Linked DNA regions of Homo sapiens: all the other regions are linked to region 6. Evidence: promoter capture Hi-C in 16 types of primary human blood cells and fetal thymus (Javierre and others, 2016). All regions are on one chromosome and are shown on one strand. The core of a region is centred on a gene start or on the middle of the fragment in contact, and the rest is flanking DNA. Distances in the headings are between cores, read along the strand shown. Region 1 overlaps TMEM163 (transmembrane protein 163). Region 2 overlaps TMEM163 (transmembrane protein 163). Region 3 overlaps TMEM163 (transmembrane protein 163). Region 4 overlaps TMEM163 (transmembrane protein 163). Region 5 overlaps TMEM163 (transmembrane protein 163). Region 6 holds the start of ACMSD (aminocarboxymuconate semialdehyde decarboxylase). Region 7 overlaps TMEM163 (transmembrane protein 163).

Region 1 (2,700 bases), core at 5-2,504, 380 kb after region 6:
CCCCAAAAAGGAATGAAGTGCTAATACTCGCTCCAACATAGATGGACCTCAAATATTATGAAGGAAGTCACAAAAGGCCACGTTATGTGATTTTGTTTATATAAAATATCAATAGGCAAATCCATAGAGGCCAGAAGGAGGGTACTTCTCGTCAGGCGTGGGGAGGATGGGGAGTGAATGGTACAGTGGACATGGGGTTTCTGAGATAACACAAATGGATGAATATACTAAAAACCACCGAGCCACATAGGGTGAATTTTATGGTATGTGAATTATCTCAGGAAAAAAAAAATGAAAATACGCTTCCCCAAGCTCTTCAGCCCCATGCCATGGAGGTGACCTTGTCTGTCTTCGTCTTTGCAGACTCCTCATCGACATGGTGCCGAGGGTGAGGCAGACACGTCACTACGAGATGTTTGAGTGAAGGGGGCCAGCATCCGCATGAGACCATCGAGATGAGGAGTTTCCACATAGGCAAAGGGTGCCAATATTTAACTGAACATCTGGTTTCTTTTTGGAAGTTTTCTTTCACATGGTTTGTCATTACAAGACAAGGTCTGCCCAGCCAGGTGGATCTACCTTGCCCCCATCACCTGCCGCCCCCATCAAACATGTTGGGACAATGCCCATAGGAATGGACCTCCTTCCCCGTCTCCAGCTGGGACTGGCGTTTTTTAGTCTCTGGAGTATGATGGTTCTCATGGGTAGGATGAGATCTTTGGCAGAAAGGTCTTCGGTGGTGCTCTGAGCCTGCGCTGCATAGGACTGAGCAGACCCACCTCCTCCAGCTTGGGTGGCCCTGCCACTCCTGGTTCCAAGTCTCTCCTTTCCTGGCAGGTCTTAAGGGAAGATTGTACCCCTCACCCTTTACATACCCAGAATCATCAGTATGTCACTTCCTAATTTCTATCAGTGTATCTCATTATTTCATACTGTTTTACTAATCCTAAGTCTAAACAGATTTGCTCAAAAGGAGACCATTCTATTTTTTAAAGTACTTAGTGATACACGTATAAGCTTTGCATGGACGAATTAAATAAGCACATTGACCTTTTCTTGTACATTCAGAACCTGAACATCCATGTGAAAACTGGGTCCATTTTTGAGAGATGTGAAACTACAGTTTATTTGTAATAAATAAATATAATCTATCCGTATATGCATATATCTATATGCTGTGTTAAGTGGTAATGGGTACATTACAGTCTGTGAGAGATGGATCGCTCCCTCTGTAAGGAACAAGACGTTCTCAGCTGATGTCACGGTAGGTTTAGATTCTGTAGAGTGTTCCCCAACCCGCACCGTTCTGTACCTCTCACACCACTGCTTGCCCGGGCAGTAGTGGCTGACCAATAAAGACCTTTACCTGTTTTGTATGGCATGGGAAGGCAATCTTTGGCAGTCGTCACCGTGCGGCACCAACACATGGGGAGACCCGTCATGGGCAGGTTTTCCGCTGTGGCTGAAGGATGACCTGGGAGGGGAAGCTTGTGCCTAGGGGTGCTGAACGTGGAGACCCTGAAGGACTGTGGTGCAGGCCGCCCTCTCTGACCACTCAGGTAGGGGCCACACACTCACCTGGCACCGAGGGACAGCTGCTCCATGGCCTTGCTGCAGCTTTGGGGCCCTGTCTCCCCTCCACGCCAGTGAAGGGAGTTTGTTCTGTGAGGTCATGGAAACTTGGTCCAGTACCATGCTTTCAGGTTGCTTCCCCAGCAGTACTGAGGAATACGTCAAGGGATGTTAATATGTAACAACATGAACTAAAGAAAAAAAAGATTGGGAAGTGTAGGAGCCTGTAGGTTTCTCTTCTGCTGGTTTTCTCGTTGTGTCTAATATACATCATGGAAGCTCAGGGAGGGGAAGTGACACTGGTAGCGTTGCCCAAATGTAGGCACTCGGCTTTCCCTTGTGTTCTAACATGCTCTGTGAACTGTGTGGGGTGTCCATTTTGGGCCGTAGCCAGGAGGCCCGCCAGCTTCAGAGAGGCCATGCAGATGAGGGCCAGTGTCATCTGCAGACAAACTGTTGGGTGGGGCATGGACTAACCTTCCCTGTCTCCAGGGCATTTGCCTAACCAGCTGCTCATGGCTCACTGCTTCCTGGCTCAAAAGCTGCTCTTGAAAGGGAGAAATCTATTCTAGGTCCAATGGTCGCTGGTGCTCAGCCCCTTATAGAGCTATTTTTATTAGCTCATTCTTAAAGATTTTTCTCAAAATCTAGCAGTTCACTTTCTAATTGAATTTCCTTCTAGGGGAAGGCAGCACAAGGAGAGTGCGCTAACATGAGTAGTGGTGGATGTGATATAAGGGAAGGAATACACAGTAGTAAAACCTTCCCCTCTCCACTCCTTAAGTATACCTTCCTGTCTTCCTACCAGCCGTTTCAACAGTGTGCTGCAAACCGTGAAATACAGCTGGGGGAAGCTGTGTGCTGGGGACGCGCCTAGACAGCAGCTCAGCTTTGTTCTGGAGGTGACCCTGCATGCACCCGCCCCCCCAAAAATCACTTCCACCTGTCACACAAGAAAAGTTTATTGAAAAATAAAGTTCTCCCTAGTTTTCTCTACAACAGTGGAAAACAAAGCAGTGCTCTCTATGCCAGGACAGTACATTTGGACGGCGACACCTTGTTTGCAGAATCCTGCATTACTTAACCCCCGAAGTGAATCACACAAAATGGCTGTAACCAGGATCTGTT
Region 2 (2,700 bases), core at 119-2,618, 340 kb after region 6:
TCTATCAACGTCATATCCAAAAGTGACAGAGTAGACTTTCCTTTGCTTAAGCTAACAGTAATGGCTTCCCATTTTATGTTTGGTGCATTGTCTCATTTCCTTTTTAGGTAGGGAATATATTCCCATTTGAAAGATGAGGAAATCAAGGCTAAGAGAGACAATAATCAAGATCACACAAGTTAAGTAAATGGTAGAGCTTGGCATGTCTCATGCCAGAGCCTCCATTCTGCTGTTAAACCATGTGCCTTCCCGTTTGAGCAGGAATGAAACATCACATTTGCCAGGCAAGGGAGAAAGATTTCATGGCCTTGAAGACCCTTCCATGACAGCATTCATGGTATGCTGTGAGCTTCTGTAGGATGGTGATCTCTTTTCCCTGTGGTTGACTTTGGTGATCAAACTCTGAACTGTATTCTCCTAGAGGTGACTTAGTGTCAATCCATGGACTGTGGGTGGTCACCCTGGGGGTGTGGCAAATTACAATTGAGTTCATTCCCAGATTGTGTCTTTGTCACTGTCAATTGTGTGGACTCTTCAGCAGTGTGAGTTCTCCCAGTTAAGATTCTCAATGTTTTGTTTTTTGCAGAGCCTGTGTCATCTTGGGGGTGATATTCCTTCTGTCATCCATATGTATAGTGGTCAAAGCCATCCATGACCTCTCAACTAGGCTGCTCCCAGAAGTGGTAAGGTCCTTCTTCTTCCTTAACAATCCTTCCTGCCAGCGCTGGCCCCCTGGGCTGCCTCTTATCGCAGGGTTCCCGGGTGGAGTCGGGCATGTTGAGAGGGAACAGACAACATTCTGGGGGTCAGAAGAACTTGTTGCAGGGATGCAAATGACCTGGTGGAGAGAAACACTGGGCAAGGTGAAGAGACTCCAGATAGGTGAGCTAGGACTGGGTTCTGTGTGCCTTTCCTTAGCTATTTTCACTATTTTTAAAGCAAGACTTTTTGTGTGTGTAAAGAGAAATTGGGTTATTTTTGTGAAGCAGAGTGATCCAATCTGTGTTGTTTGCATCTGTTGTTCTGTGTTCATTCAATGATCGTTGTATTAAGAATTATTTTTTTCCTTTGCACCTCAATTCAGTCATAAATCTATTCATGTTAGGTTTTCTGGCACAATTGACACTGGGATATTGAAACTGGAGGACACAAATTCATATTAAAATGTGTCTTTGACTGCTTTGTCCTCTGGGTGAGAGTCATTACCGGCACTCTGATTCTTTTTCCCTCCCTCCCCTTATGAGTGCTGAGAAAAGAAATATTTTTACAGCCTCCTGTCATGCAGTCTTCGTGACAGGCAGCTGATGTGGTTACCAGGAGATGAAGATGCTGCCATTACAATAATTCCCTGTGTACAAGTTGCAATGGAAATTTGAATGCAAAATCTGGTCTCCTCTTAGGATGTGATTTGATGTGAGCTTGGCTACATGCACCATCTGATATAAGACCAAAATGATTAGACCTTTAATTTTACTTTTGAAAAAAGATATTAATCCTTGTTGGGTGATGTATTGCATGTATGTGTGTTTGTGTGTATATGTGTGTTTTTATAGGGAAGATGAAAATGAGGTGAGACATTCTCCTGCATTTAGTAGAGGCATGAAAGTGGCTGCTTTAAGTTGTTTTCCTCACTCCCTTGTAAATGATTAGTGCCATCCCTTTAATGATCCACCAGGATTTTAACTGTTATTTATCACCACAGTTGGCCAGCGCTTACTCTCTAACATCTCAGTGACAGGGAGGAAAAATGGATATGGGGATAGGAATGTACCTATTTGTGGTATTTAGTCTTTTTCAGAAGCAGAGATAGCCCGAACAAATATTACCATTTATTACAGTCCTGTGCTCTTCATCTCCTACTTAACCAATCTCCCTGGTTGCCTGGCATATGGGACTCTCGCGTCCTCCTCCTCCATCAGACTTGCTAGCCTGCATTTCATTCAGTCAGAATCTGAACCTTAGGTAAGATATGAGGGCACCAAGTGTGATTATACATGTTAGATGTCAGTCAGGTAACGTCTACGTTTTATAGGCCTTGCAAATATGCCTCCACTCTGAGAAATGTTTGTTGGTGGGCATTTTCTGCACTATGCCAGTTGACACATTCATTTATTTGGCATTAAAAATTAATTTCCAGCAGGGCTCATGTGATAGGGGATGGATGGCTGTGCTCACGGCCCTTGTAATGGCTCTCCTTGTTATTCTCCCGATAGCTGAACCACTTTTAACTGGGAGCAATCTGTTATTATCCCACAGTGCAAATACTCTTAAGAGAAGCAGCTCACCGACTTACATTCCCCCTCAAGGTGTACATATCCAACACCCAGCCTCACCTGGGGTTCAGAGAAGCTGAAGATTCCATGGTTGCGCCTGTCCTTACAGAACCCATACCATCTGTACCTTTGATGAATTGTGCTATGGGATTGTAAACATTTAATTTACTTATTTTTTTAAATTGACAATAATGATAATTTATGGGGTACATAGTGATGTTTTGATACATATCATGTATAGTGACCAGATTAGGGTAATTAGTGAATTACCATATCCATTATCTCAAACATTTATTATTTCTGTGTTGGGAACATTCAGTATCCCTCTCCTAGCTATATAATATGTGATATATTATACAATTATAACCTATATAGTATATTATTGTTCACTCTAGTCATCCTATAATTGTTTAGAACACTAGAACTT
Region 3 (2,757 bases), core at 51-2,550, 370 kb after region 6:
GCTTTCTTTTTGTTCTGTCAATATGGGAAATTGCTTTGATTGATATTTGAATGTTTAATCAATATTGGTTCCCCAGGATAAACCCCGTTTGGTCATGTTGTATTATCCTTTTTATATATTGCTGAATTTGTGTTGCTGATACTTTGTTGAGGACTTTTAAGTCTGATTCATGAGAGCTATTGGTCTGTAGTTTTCTTGTGATGCTTCTGCTTTTAGTGTCATGGTAATGCTGGCCTCAGAAATAAATTGGGAAGTGTTTCTTCTTTATCTTTTTTTTTCTGAAAGAGATGTTTTAGAATTGGTTATTTCTCCTTTAAATGATTAAATGTTTGGCAGATTTGCCAGTAAAAGCATTGGGGCCTGAAGTTTTGTGAGAAGGATTTTCACTACAGTTTCAAGGTCTTCGGTTGATACAGGGTTCTTCAGGTTATCTACTTCTTGGATGACGTTTGATTTGTCTATTTCTTCTAAGTTGTCAAATTTATTGGCATCAAGTTGGTTATATCTCCTTGTTATCTTCTTAATAGATCCTGTTGGATCTGTAGTGATGTACCTTCTCTCATTCCTGATATTGGTAACATGTGTCCTCTTTCTTCTAGATGAGTCCTGGAGGTTTATCCTACATTACTGATCTTTATCAAGGTCTTTGGTTTTATTGATTCTTCTCTACTGTTTATTCATTTTCTGTCTCATTGGTTTCTTTTTCTTTTTTTTTTTTTTGAGACAGAGTTTCACTCTTGTTGCACAGGCTAGAGTGCAATGGTGTGATCTTGGGTCACTGCAACCTCTGCCTCCCTGGTTCAAGTGATTCTCCTGCCTCAGCCTCTCATGTAGCTGGGATTACAGGTGTGAGGCACCACACCCAGCTAATTTTGTATTTTTAGTAGAGACAGGGTTTCCCCATGTTGGTCAGGCTGGTCTCGAACTCCTGACCTCAAGTGATCCACCTGCCTCGGACTCCCAAAGTCCTGGGATTACAGTTGTGAGCCACCGCACCTGGTCTGTCTCATTGATTTCTGCTCATAAGTTTATTATTTCTTTCCTTCTCCTTACTTTGGGATTAATTTGATTTTCTTTTAATTTTTTCTTAAAGGCAAAGCTCAGATCATTGATATTAGGCCTTTTAAACATTTTTAAGTACATTATTTACTATAAATTTTCCTCTTAGCTCTGCTTTTGCTGCATACCACTAATTTCAGTATACTGTTGTTCTACTTTATTTCACTTCAAAATATATTGTAATTTCCCTGGTGACTTATTCTTTGATTCATGAGTTTTTAAGAAGTGGGTTGTTTTATTGTTTAGTTTCCAAATACTAGAATATTCTAGATATCATCCTGTTACTGATTTCTAGTTTAATCCCATTGTCAGAGAATATGCCTTGTATAATTCAGTTTTTTAATTGGTTGACATCTTTTTAATGGCATAGAATGTGATCTACATTAATATTACATTTAAAAAGAATGTGTGTCCTGCCTTTGTAGGGTAGATGTTCCGTAAATGTCAGGCAAAGCTGGTTGATCATGTTGTTGAAGTCTTCTGTTTACTGACTTTCTGTTAGTTTGTTCTATCAGTTATGTAAAAGTGTTTTCATTGCTGTAATGAATGGCCCATATGTGCCGTCATTTGCATACATGTACAGGTATAGCAGTAAGATAAATTCACATAAGTGGGTGGCTTGCTCAAAGGGTAGATGTGTACTTTTCAGAGAAATTGTCAAATTGTTCTCTGTACAGGTTGGACCATTTTGCACTGCCACCAGAATTGTATGAGAGACTGTTTTCTCATAGCCTTGTAATATTTTTGGTTAGATAAAAAGGATCTTACTATAGTTTTGGCTTTCATTTCTTTTATGAGCATTTGAGCCTTTTTCATATGTTTAAAATTTATGTTATTTTTAACTGTCTCTCACATATATCTTTGTCCATTTTCTCTTTGTTGGTCTTTTTCCTCTAGATTTCCATGAGCCCTTTCTATAGTAAGGAGATTAACCCTTTGTGATAACCCTTTTCCTAGTTTGTATTTGATCTTTCCCCTGAATATGTCTTAACTTCTCTCTAGTCAAGTATATCAATCTTTTATGGCTTTGCTACTACAAGATGTTGAAGGAGCTTGCCAGCATGGACAAAATTTATGTGGAGTTTACCTTTAATGTACATTTATACTTGGCTTTGAATGAGTGGCTAATTTCCTTAAACCTTTTTGTCATAATCTTCCATCAATCAGTGAAGATTCAACTGTGAGAAATTATAGAGACACAGTGCTGGTAACAGCAGGAACTGAATGCCCAGCAAGGAAATCGCTGTTGCTGTTTTCACGGAGTCCACTGTTGAGGGACATGAGAGATGATGATAAGGCCTTAGATGAGGCAACCTGGTAGAGTTTACAGCTGGGAACAATTCCAGGTCCTGCCACTGCAGAGTGACCCTGGGAAAGTCATTTAGCCTCTCTCCAACTGTTTATGCATCTGTCAGACGCCCACTCTGACAGTGCTGAGAATTCAGTGGCATGGTAGGTGCGGCCGCACCTTGAGAGGAGTCAGTGGTGGAACAGCCTACACGTGTTATGGTTTCTCATCATCAGCCATGTCTCCATGTCTGCTGTGGCTTCCTGACTCTCTGAAAGGAATCTTCTCAGAAACTTCCTTTTATTAAACTTAGAGACTGTCTTAGCTTGGGGTGCCAAAGACAAATGTCGTAGACTAGGTGGCTTAAAAAACAGGAATTTCATCTTCACAGTTCTGGAGACTGAAGTCCA
Region 4 (2,718 bases), core at 1-2,500, 260 kb after region 6:
GGATTCCAAAGTTGGTGCTGTGACTGCTGTGCTGAGAGGAGCTTTCTGGTGAAGCTCCACCGTTCTCTGTCCACAGGACTAAGCAGAAATGAAGTTCTTCTCATATTTTTTTAAAATCCAAATAATCATTGCACAGAGATGCCTGTTAAAATAGAGAAATATGTTTTAGTGCCATTTTTATAGGAAGAATGGTCCCAGAGTAGAGATCTCTTAGCATATATGTGGAGTGTGTTCAAGCCAGTGGATTCTTCTCTACTTTTGCAGGTAGAAGGGAATTTAGGCCCCTTGGACCCAGAAGCCATTTTTCTGCCCCCTACCTTTCCTCCTCTCAGGATGGAGGCGACCCCCAGCCCCCACATGAGATATCACCACTTCCTCTTCCTCACCTGCCAGTGACTCACTGTTGCCAAAACTAAAGCATCAGCTTGAGACATGATTATTTTTTTCTTCCTTGTTTCAGAGACAGCACTTATGATGACTGAGTGGCTGTATGCAAGTCATGAGAATCACATGGCAGGACCTAGCACCACCATGCACCAGCTTGGGCTTGGGTTTCTGATTAGTCTGAGTGAAGCTTTGACGTGAATTTTTGTCTTGTCAGACTCCAGTTAACTTCAACAGGGACGGCACTAGGTTCAAGAGTCCAGAGAAGAGACCCAGAGCCAGCAAATGAGATATGGGGTTTTATTTGTGAGAACTTACATGCAGGAACAGTCCAAAGGTGGCAGACTGGACAGGAGAACTGCAACCTCTTGCAAAAAGCGTGCGGTTTGTAGAGCACTTGCACTTAGCAGCGGCCCCCGCATGGCAGCTGTCATTTCTTAAGTTATTGCTATTAGGTGCACCTACCATACTGACCTTCCCCCACCTACAGGAGCTGGGAACATTCCTTATGCTCTTTGGGGGATTTGGGTTGCCTTTTTTGAAGTTGATGAGAAAACAATTTTGCAAAACTTACTCCCCTTCCCAGCCTTTGTCCTCTCTTTTAGTTCCTTTCTAATTAGGCATCTTCCCATAGCACATGGCGATCTTCTTGTCTTCCCTTTTTGACATGACTGTGGTTTCTAGGAAACTGAAAGTTTTAAACTCTTGCATACCTTGTGCTCTCTCATGGTTCTCTGCCGTGTGTGTGAACCCAAGCAGTGCTGGTTGCAGTGCTGTTGATACTTCTATGCGCACTCATGGTGACAAGGAAACCCTTCAGCTTTATGACACCGTTAGGAAGGACAAAGTCTTCAATATGTGTAGCCATATTTTGAACGATGGAATATTTAACATGGAGAATCAGTGGTTCAAGGGCAGGAGGGAGATGGAAGGGTAGTTGCCTTTTTGGTTCTGCTGCTTCTTGTAAAGTTGTGTTCTTTGGTCACTCTGGTATCATTATTGTACATGTGTATATGCATATGCTGACATGGGCAAGGGGAAAGTATGGGGAAACTAAAGGTAGGAGATCCTCCCCTCAAAATGAGCTGACTTGACTTTTGAACTTGTTTTCTCATCAACCTCATAAAATTCATCTCCCCCCCGCCCCCATAAAGAGCATGAAGAATGTTCCCAGCTCCTGTAAGTGGGGGAATTGCTGGTGGTTTGTTTGGGGGAAGGGCAGTGCAGCAATGCAGCCAGAGTGGGGTGGCAGCTGCTATTTTACATTTGGAAGGAAGTGGACCCAGTTCTGGAATGAACATAAATGTTGACATTCAATTTCTCTCACCAAAGTAAAGTGGAGAATTTTAGATATGTTCTGAAAGAGATAAGCATGATGTGTTGCTAAGGCTATTTGCATGTAGACACTTATGAAGAAGATGTGAAAATTGTTTCTGTGTTATGTATATTCTAGTTAATTAAAAAAAAATTAGTTGGCCTTTTAAGGGAAAGGAGCTTGTTGAGTTATTCATCAAGTAGCTACTTTGGGTGATAGAAGCTTGGTTTAAAAAAGAAAAAAAAGGAAGATCAAGGTTAACCAGAAATGGTGCCTCAGGAAGCAAATGTATATATTGGACTACAAATCCTTTTCCGTCGGATTTGCCCCATGTGTCTGTGACTCTCCCTTCAGTGCCCTCCTGCCCTGATTCTGTTGTTCTTGGCACCTGCGTCTGTGATGGTCAGGAAGTTTAGGTCTTCATTAGAGGGTCCAGGGACTGAATTGAGCCCCAGAGGTTATCTCATGAAGCCCCGCCTGGAGAGATTGGTTAGTCAAACCCAGAACCACCATCCACATCTTGCTCCTGTCCTAGGGCTGGTTTTTTTTGAGGCAGAGTCTCGCTCTGTCACCCAGGCTGGAGTGCAGTGGAGCCATCTTGGCTCACTGCAACCTCCACCTCTGGGGTTCAAGCGATTCTCCTGCCTCAGCCCCCTGAGTACATGGGATTACAGACATGCACCATCACTCTCGGCTAATTTTTGTATTTTTTGGTACAGATGGGGTTTCACCACGTTGGCCAGGCTGATCTTGAACTGCTGACCTCAAGTGATCCACCTGGCTCGGCCTCCCAAAGTGCTGGGATTCCAGGTGGCAGCCACTGCGCCCGGCCTCTAGGGTTGTTTGACTTATTTTTGCATTGATCTTGGGCTAATTCCAGATTAATTTCTTGTTGTCTCAAAGACTGACATCCTTTGCACAATAAATGAATGAATTTTATTCCGTATACACTTACTATAGTATATAGTATGTGGGGAAGCCAGTGAGCTCTTGAACAAGGATTTTATTTTACACTTCTT
Region 5 (2,700 bases), core at 195-2,694, 310 kb after region 6:
AGTCTAAATAACATTTCATGATTTTAAAATTAGTATGTACTCATTATTTAAAAACTGGACAATTTTTTTTTTTGAGGTAGGGTCTTGCTGTGTCGCCTAGGCTAGAGTACAATAGTGTGATCGCCGGGGAGATCTTGGCTCACTGCAGCCTCTGCCTCCTGGGTTCAAGTGATTCTCTTGCCTCAGCCTCCCAAGTAGCTGGGACTACAGGTGTGTACCACCATGCCCGGCCAATTTTTGTACTTTTTTTTGTAGAGATAGGGGTTTCTCCATGTTGGCCAGGCTGGCCTTGAACTCCTGACCTCAGATCATTCCACCTGCCTTGACCCCCCAAAGTGCTGAATTACAGATGTGAGCCACCATGCCTGACCAAAAACTGGACAATTTAATGTATGAAGAGTCACCCCTCATCCTACCACCCAGAGAATGGTTAGCTTTTGGAGATTTTTTTCTTTCCATTTCTTTTATGCATGTGCGCAGGTTTATATACATTTTGTTTTTGTTTTTGAGACAGAGCGAGACTCTGTCACCCAGGCTGGAGTATAGTGGCGTGATCTCAGCTCACTGCAACCTCTGCCTCATGGGCGCAAGTGATCCTCCTGTCTCAGCCTCCTGAGTAGCTGGGATTACAGACATGCACCACCAGGCGCAGCTAATTTTTTTATTTTTAGTAGAGACGGGGTTTCACCATGTTGGCCAGGCTGGTCTTGAACTCCTGGCCTCAAATAATCCACTGGCCTTGGCTTCCCAAATGCTGGGATTACAGGTGTGAGCCATAGCATCTGGCCGGGTTGGTACACATTTTTATAAAGCTGAGCTAATGGTACGTGTTCTGTTGTGCATCCTGCTTTTCCCCCCACTTTCTAAAGTGAGCATTTCTTTGTTATTGAAAATCTTGATGTACTTCCTTTTAAGTGTCAATGTTGCATCTTATTGATGCACCGTTATTAACCATTCACCTTAAATACCCAAGTATGGTTTTTCTTCTCCTATTATAACATAGCAGTGAAGGGCTTTATACAATCTTGTGTCTGATTATTTCCTTAGGAAGAATATTTCTTTAAATGCAATTTCTAATCAGAAGTGTGAGACATATTACTAAATTGTCCACTGAGATTGACACTTTGTATTCCAACCAGCACTGGCTGTTTTCATTTTTAAAAATGGACAATTGAAGAGGCAAAGTGGTATCATTACAACTTTTTTTCACTTTTCAAATGGCTTAAGAATTGACCCTAGAGATGTTACTCCAAATTGTTTGGCTGATCAAGATTTTCCAGAATGTTTGTCTAACCAGAGTTTAGTTCACCTCACCATACCCTAACTTTTCTATCTCATTCATAACAATGTTATAAGAAACTCTTATCAGATGCCTTGTTAAAATCAAAATGTATCATCTGAGGCATTCTCCTGGTTTACTAGGTTAGGGAAGCCATCTCTAAAGGAAATGGAGTTAGGCCAGTTAGATTTATTCCTGGTGAACCTAGGTGAGCTGAACAAAATGTTTTTCATTTTGGAATTGTTAGACTAAATCTGTTAAGTAAGCCATCTGATAATTGAAGTAAGCCTTTCATCGGTCTTGAATTTCTAAGATCTGCTTACAAACACCAAGACCCATTTCCCAACTTCTAGAATAGTTTCCTGTTTGCCCTGATTTTTTAAAAGGCTACTGGGAGTTTTTCCATAACAACATGGAATGATCTTTCACCATTTGGGATAATGTGATTTAGGATCTGGATGGTGTTAGAAGGACCAGGTGTTTCTTTTTCGTTCTGTCTTGTTGGACTTCTGTGTCCTCTTAATTAGTTTTATTTTCTGTTCCTTGCCCAGTTGACAGGCCAGAAGTGGTGCTATTCTGTCTTTTGTCTCATGTAAACATTGACCATTCTTCTTGGGTTGTAGTTAACCTGAGAATTTTGTTCTGAATGGCATTTGGAAATATTTTTTCCAAGACTTAGCCCATTTTGGACCTATATCTAACATACATGTTGGCGCTACTCTTTTGATTGTGTCTTTGGCTAATTATTTTCGTATGTTCCTCTTAAATATCACCTCATCAGAGGGCTTTCCATGCTGTTACAGTGATTTATTTATGGGCATCCCATCTCAATCCTGTCATTTTCCCAGCCCGTGTTTGTGGTTTCAGCCAGGACCGGAATGATTCCCAAGGCTAGGACAAGTCATTCCTATAGCCTTGCTCAGGATCCCGGGAGAGCGGGAAGTGGAGAGCCCTGTGGTGTTGGGCTCACTGTCACATACTTTTCTGGAAATTGTAAAGCCCTTAGACCTTCAATTTCCTGCCACAGCTGCTCTTCCCCTTCACTCCTCAACCCTCAGCGATAGCAGCGGGATTTGGGGATCTGGGGCTGTTTTTTTTGGCAAGTGTCTTTTGCACATGTTAAGGATTTGTTGTATTTTTTTCTGAAGGTTTTTCTTTTTCTTAAACTTCTAAAATTTCTTTATAATATACTTTCTAAGGTTTCCTCCCCTTCCTCCCTTCCTTCCTCTCTCTCTCTATAGTAAGTGTATATACACACAAGCATGCACATAAACACATATGCATGTATGTATAGATGCATACACGTATGTAAGCATGTACACTGTATAGATTTGCAGAGGGGTCAGGGCAAGTGAAAGGAGATGGAAGAGACATGATATAATCACCAAGAAGATGAGATTTTATCCTAGTTATAGCTAATA
Region 6 (2,700 bases), core at 125-2,624:
GCGCCATAAGATGTAAGAAACTGCATGCAGCTTCTAAACAAGGCAGATGCACTCCCACAAAGTAACTGGTGCATTCCCTTCATGAAATCATTAACATTGTGAAGTGGTTTACACTTCAGTAAACTATGATGAGGACAACAGCACTCAGAACAGCATGTTCCTGTGTAAACATGTAGAGTCCTTTTAGGAAGAGCAGGTTGAGAGGTTTATCTTTTATCGTTAGCTGTGCATAGGATAGGCTTTCAAAGATTTTGTTTTTCAATCCACAGTTTCTACCACCCCTCTTACCTAAGATACCAATGGACAAAGAAATACTTAAGATAAACATTCTTCAATGAGACAACTATGAGAAGAAAATAGTTTCATCTATTTGCACAATGAACCACATTTAATTCAAGTTTGGGTTAATTCATTTTCCCTCACTTGGGATAAAAAAGTTGAAACATTATCGGTGGTGTGAAAGTACTGGCAGAATGCTGAAGATTGGGTAAAACCTGATATTAAGCCTGAACAAACCTCTAGCCAATTTTACATTTCTTTCATGTTCCTCACCTTCCTCTTTTTATATTCATTCAAAAGTTCTTAATGACAAAAGGAAATTTCCATCTTTAGAGAAACACAAAGAATACTCTCTTAGGAGATGTCACTGTGCAAAAGCTTCATGTCATTTATTCTCGGGTTTTTTGATGTACCTACTTCCTAGTTCTTCAGGACAAAGATTTATAGAATAAAGAACATCAAACAGTAAAGGTTTCAGGCAGTGTCCTAAAATAGACTAAAAAAATTCACAAAGCTATCTCTTGGTGCTTCTAAAACTTATTTTAAACATTTTGGAAAGGAGATATATTTTAGAAGTCCTTGAAACCGATCACATTCCATTTTTAATGGTCTTCTACTTAAAATTGTAACTTTAAATTCTGTAGTTGGCATGTATCTTCCCAGCAGCTGAATATGTGATTTTTGAAAAGGTAAATCTGCCTTATTTAAATTGTCCAGATATTTTAAAGAATGGTTCATTTGAGGGAAAAAAGGGTTTCTGAGAAAGCACTTATTTCTTTAATCCAATGTTATTTCAAAATAAATATAAAAGTCATTTTTAAAAGCTAGAAAATCAGAACTACCAAATGATTTAACCCCCTCGCCCCCCACCAAAGCAGATAAACTAGACATCTAATTCCACAAAGAAGAGAAAGGCATTGAGAAACCCTGGAGAAGTTTCAGAAATAATTCAGCAAATTAATTACCATTACCTTTTTTAGATCTGGCCATTCTTTTGGTAGAATATGACTATGGATGTCAATTTTCATCTCCACAGGATCAGAGAAGCATGCAAGGAAAGAAGTTTTGATATCAAGAGACCTTTGTGAAAACTGTGGAGTTAATTGATTTACTTAGTCCCTTTACAGCAACCTTCAGGCAGCAGTCAGTAGGCCTGCCCAACCCAGTCTAGGTCCATTAGAACTGCTTTATTAAAGTTCAAAGTTCTGTTTATTTGTTAACCAAGCTTTGGTTAACCAAGCTTTATTTGTTAATCAAGCTTTGGGTCAACACAGTTTGGTAGTCAGGACTCTTGGCACAAAACTTAAAAAAACAAAAACAAAAACAAAAACAAAAAAACAACTGTACTCAACTGTATGAGGTCAAAAGCACAGCAGGATGCTTTGACTTACAGCAGGTCAAAAATTGACTGATTTTTCATTTTAAATATTTTAACTTAGTTGTACATAGTTAATAATTAAATAGTTTGTAGTTAAAAATAAAACCATGCAGAGGGCTTTTACAGAAAAAGGATAGATCCCTGACTCACCTTTTCTTACTTTTCCTTGCACTATTCAGAAGCAGCCAGTTTTTATGATTTTGCTTTTTGTTCAGTTAGTTACTCCCATATCTTTAAATAATATTTAACAGTTGTCTTGTTCATGAAAATTTAACGTGTTGAAAAGTTATGGGGAGGTTTCACATTTTAAATCACAGAAAGAGTCCACTCTTCATATATGTTTTTTCCTCCAGTGCCTTTGTCTTGGACTCATTCATTCATGCATTTTTTTCCTTTTTTTTTTGTTTTTTAATTTGAGATGCGGTCTCACTATATTGCCCAGGCTGGTATGGAATTCCTGGGCTCAAGCAATCCACCCACCTTTGCCTCCCAAAGTGCTGGGATTACAGGCGAGAGCCACTGCACCCAGCTTCATTCATGCATTTAACAAACATTTATGGAGAACTGCTATATGCTGACGATGTAAGGTTGACTGAGAGAAAGATGATACATATCCTAAAGTGTAGGGAAAAGAAGATAGTAGCCATTTCCATTTAGCATTATCAGAGCAGTCAGGGAGGGCTTCCAATATAGCAGAAAGTGGGGCTTATATGGTCATGCCTCTAAAGAGAGCCTGGAACAAAACAGCCCTTGATTGTTCTGTGTTTACCCTTTCCTCTTCCTGAACAGCTTAAAATGTTCAAGGGACCCCAGGTCCCCTGGCAAACCCTTAAACCTGCCTTGGTTGCTGCCTTCAGCTCAGACTCCACAACACATAAATTGAGTAGTCAAAAAGCTTCCTTCTGTAATTCAGCTAGATTCTGGATAAATTATAACAGACAGCTTGAAAGAAAATAAAGGAAATCCTTGAAATCCATTTTTTTAGAAGTTCAGTGAGCTAAAACTGAATGAGTAAGCCTTAAACTAACATGGAGGCACTTGCT
Region 7 (2,700 bases), core at 156-2,655, 280 kb after region 6:
TCTTCATAGTATGTTCTGTTCTTTAAAATGTTTCTTAAGCGACTTTTCAAACCAAAGAGGTTCAATGTGTTTGGAATCAGCAGTGCAGACCAAGGGCCATCTCAGTGGCCTGGCAAGGATGACCTTGGGTGACAATATCCATGCCTTTGCTAGCTCTTCTTGCCCGTAGTGTTAGCTTTTGGTTCTGGTCTGAATTGACTGTCACACATTAAATAAAAGCCAGAAATTATAATTGGGGGTTAGAGATTCTTCCAGTCTTGTTCAGTTTAACAAGGATTTTTTGAGCACTGACAATGCACTTGTGCTTGAGCACACAGACCCTGAGGATAGAGACAAATATGATACAACCCTTGACTTCACGCTTTTGTGTGCTGCTTGGGAGAAGGCAAGGAGCATTTCTGTGTTTTATAAAAGAAAGGCAGCTAGGGGCAGGGAGCTTTGGGGCCCAAAAAGACACCAAGCCAAAGTAAAAAGAATGGACTGAAAATGAGTTTACCTAGAAACAAGCTTCAAACTCCCAGCAACCTCACAGGTATTTAACATAGAAGACAAGAGAAGATAAAATGCGAAAGTTCTGTTCTATAAATTTTATCCCCATCTCTGTTTATCTAATGAATGCTTTACTTACTGGGCTAAAGGAGCTGCATTCTATGATTAAGGGAAACATAAGGCTTTAAAATGTATGTTTTATCAAATTGTTGGGCAAGCAACTGCTGTATCCCCAGCTCAGCAGAATAGTGTGGGACACATAGTAGGTGCTCAGTAAGCACTTGTTGGTTGAATGAAAGACTGATTAGTTGAGCGTGGCTACTCATGTTAGTCTGGCAGTGTGGGTTGCAGGACATGAATTGAGTGTGGTCTGAGGACACCTGACCAGGCCTGCCTCCCACAGGCTTACTTGATAGCTCTGCTGGCATTGTGGGCAACCCTGGCACAAGGAGGTGTAAGAGCAAGTGTTAGGAAAGTGTGAGTGACATTCAGCAAGAACCTTGCTGCTCACTTTGGGAGGCCAAGTCAGGCGGATCGCGAGGTCAGGAGATCGAGACCATCCTGGCTAACACGGTGAAACCCTGTCTCCACTAAAAAATACAAAAAAAATTAGCCGGGCGTGGTGGTGGGTGCCTGTAGTCCCAGCTACTCGGGAGGCTGAGGCTGGACCTCGGATCACGAGGTCAGTAGATCGAGACCATTCTGGCTAACACGGTGAAACCCTGTCTCCACTAAAAAAAAATACAAAAAAATTAGCCGGGTGTGGTGGTGGGTGCCTGTAGTCCCAGCTACTCGGGAGGCTGAGGCTGGAGAATGGCGTGAACCCAGAAGGCGGAGCTTGCAGTGAGCCAAGATGGCGTCACTGCGCTCCAGCCTGGGCGACAGAGCGAGACTCCGTCTCAACAACAACAAAAATAATAATAATAAAAGAACTTTGCTGCTACTTTTAGCTCTGGCGTGTGAGGTCTGTGTAGCAAATGTGCTAACAAGTTGAGGGGCTGTATACGCCATCGGAGACGGCGGAGACGGCCCATAAATGCTCATAAAAGTTGGTTAACTGTGCCTTCAGGGGATGTTCCTCCTGCTTATTCCCAGACTGAAGAAGCAGCACAGTGAAAGTGTGCTGTGGTGTTGAGGAAGTTTTGTCATTAAAAGCTGGGGTCTTTGTCTTTTTGTCTCTGAGCTGGTGACTCCTGTGTGTGAGACCTCTGAGAGCTTCTTGAAACCCAGGTCTCTCCCTGTTGAGTGGCAGGCATCCTGCCCATGTCCCAGGAATGCCGATCCCTGCTTTGGAACGGGGGTCATGTGCATTTCATGTTACGCAAACTGAAACAGAGCTAGTCTGGTGGTGTGTGGTAGCAGGAACAAGGGTGCCCTGGTCCATGCTAGAGACTTTCCTTGGGTTGTTTTTATTTGGATTTTTTTCCTGTTATACTATTCTGTGTTGGCTCTTGGCTTTCTGGGTCCGGGGCTATCCTTACTCTTTCCTTAATCCTAGATCTTTGCCATTTGCAAATGCTTCAAGCTGTCCCTAAAGCAGTGGTCCATTTAGAGGCTGGTTTCTCCATTGTGCCCCAGAAAGTGCCAGCTGCGGCTTCATTTGCTCAGGGAAGGGCTTCTGGGTAGCACGGCTGGGCCTCCCGGTGTTTTGAGCCCTTGGTCCTGTCTGCCTTCTCCCTGAAGGCTCTGTTTGCTGCATGCTGGAGCTAAGGGGAAGGTGTTAATGAATCCATCTGAAAGTTTTCCATGTTCTATGTGTTTAGGCACTGATCTTGGCATTCGGGATACATCAGGGAACAAACATTCAAAGCTTTTGCCTTTGTGGTGTATATATTCTAATAGGTGGGAGTAGGGTGGGGCAGATGAAACCTACATAAGTACATAAGATAATGTGGTAGATGAGATGTACTTCAGATAAAGAAAATTTAGAGGTGGGTGACAGAGAGCTCAGATTGGGAACGAGGGCAGGTTTCATCGTTAAATGCGGTGGCCAGGACAGCCCTAACCTGAAGGAGGGGAGGGAGCAGGCCAGGCTGATCCCTGGAGTAAGCTTGTTTCTGGCAGAATGAAGAGCCGTGGCCTGGCTGTGGGGAGGTCAGCGAGGAGCCCCATGTGGCTGGAGTGCAGTGAGCAGGTGTGGGCCGCAGAAGAGGAGATCAGAGAACAGAGGCTTCCTCCATCCTAAGGACCATGGCCTTTCCAGGGAGGCCA

What was found. The method cuts DNA at HindIII sites, captures the fragments that hold promoters and counts their contacts. A CHiCAGO score of 5 or more calls a contact.
Region 1: a contact is called between a fragment that was not itself captured here and the fragment with the promoter of ACMSD in region 6, in 5 of 17 cell types (M0 macrophages, total CD8 T cells, megakaryocytes and 2 more). The highest score is 7.3, in M0 macrophages.
Region 2: a fragment that was not itself captured here is called in contact with the fragment with the promoter of ACMSD in region 6 in 4 of 17 cell types (naive CD8 T cells, naive B cells, fetal thymus and 1 more); the score reaches 6.5 in naive CD8 T cells.
Region 3: a contact is called between a fragment that was not itself captured here and the fragment with the promoter of ACMSD in region 6, in 5 of 17 cell types (M1 macrophages, total B cells, non-activated CD4 T cells and 2 more). The highest score is 7.4, in M1 macrophages.
Region 4: a fragment that was not itself captured here is called in contact with the fragment with the promoter of ACMSD in region 6 in 5 of 17 cell types (naive CD4 T cells, naive B cells, non-activated CD4 T cells and 2 more); the score reaches 6.7 in naive CD4 T cells.
Region 5: a contact is called between a fragment that was not itself captured here and the fragment with the promoter of ACMSD in region 6, in 4 of 17 cell types (total B cells, naive CD4 T cells, monocytes and 1 more). The highest score is 6.2, in total B cells.
Region 7: a contact is called between a fragment that was not itself captured here and the fragment with the promoter of ACMSD in region 6, in 5 of 17 cell types (naive B cells, naive CD4 T cells, total B cells and 2 more). The highest score is 6.1, in naive B cells.

Annotation. Positions count from the first base shown.
Region 1 is chr2:134,454,440-134,457,139 of GRCh38, reverse strand. It overlaps TMEM163 (transmembrane protein 163), which reads left to right. Exons shown (of 8, transcript NM_030923.5): 8 at 364-1,381. The coding sequence ends at 424. It overlaps MGAT5 (alpha-1,6-mannosylglycoprotein 6-beta-N-acetylglucosaminyltransferase), which reads right to left. Exons shown (of 16, transcript NM_002410.5): 16 at 2,519-2,700. Among named protein-coding and RNA genes, the nearest start is that of MGAT5, 200 kb to the right of the region's middle. The HindIII fragment of the contact is 470 bases long and covers 1,020-1,489 here.
Region 2 is chr2:134,500,884-134,503,583 of GRCh38, reverse strand. TMEM163 (transmembrane protein 163) reads left to right here. Exons shown (of 8, transcript NM_030923.5): 5 at 587-683. Among named protein-coding and RNA genes, the nearest start is that of TMEM163, 220 kb to the left of the region's middle. The HindIII fragment of the contact is 6,399 bases long and covers 1-2,700 here.
Region 3 is chr2:134,471,499-134,474,255 of GRCh38, reverse strand. The region is part of intron 5 of TMEM163 (transmembrane protein 163); the gene reads left to right. Among named protein-coding and RNA genes, the nearest start is that of MGAT5, 220 kb to the right of the region's middle. The HindIII fragment of the contact is 7,682 bases long and covers 1-2,757 here.
Region 4 is chr2:134,580,443-134,583,160 of GRCh38, reverse strand. All of the region lies in intron 2 of TMEM163 (transmembrane protein 163), which reads left to right. Among named protein-coding and RNA genes, the nearest start is that of TMEM163, 140 kb to the left of the region's middle. The HindIII fragment of the contact is 1,347 bases long and covers 577-1,923 here.
Region 5 is chr2:134,527,138-134,529,837 of GRCh38, reverse strand. All of the region lies in intron 4 of TMEM163 (transmembrane protein 163), which reads left to right. Among named protein-coding and RNA genes, the nearest start is that of TMEM163, 190 kb to the left of the region's middle. The HindIII fragment of the contact is 5,072 bases long and covers 1-2,700 here.
Region 6 is chr2:134,837,290-134,839,989 of GRCh38, reverse strand. ACMSD (aminocarboxymuconate semialdehyde decarboxylase) reads right to left here and starts at 1,374. Exons shown (of 10, transcript NM_138326.3): 1 at 1,251-1,374. The coding sequence starts at 1,307. The HindIII fragment of the contact is 847 bases long and covers 660-1,506 here.
Region 7 is chr2:134,559,912-134,562,611 of GRCh38, reverse strand. All of the region lies in intron 2 of TMEM163 (transmembrane protein 163), which reads left to right. Among named protein-coding and RNA genes, the nearest start is that of TMEM163, 160 kb to the left of the region's middle. RefSeq lists a silencer at 1,244-1,423. The HindIII fragment of the contact is 1,792 bases long and covers 510-2,301 here.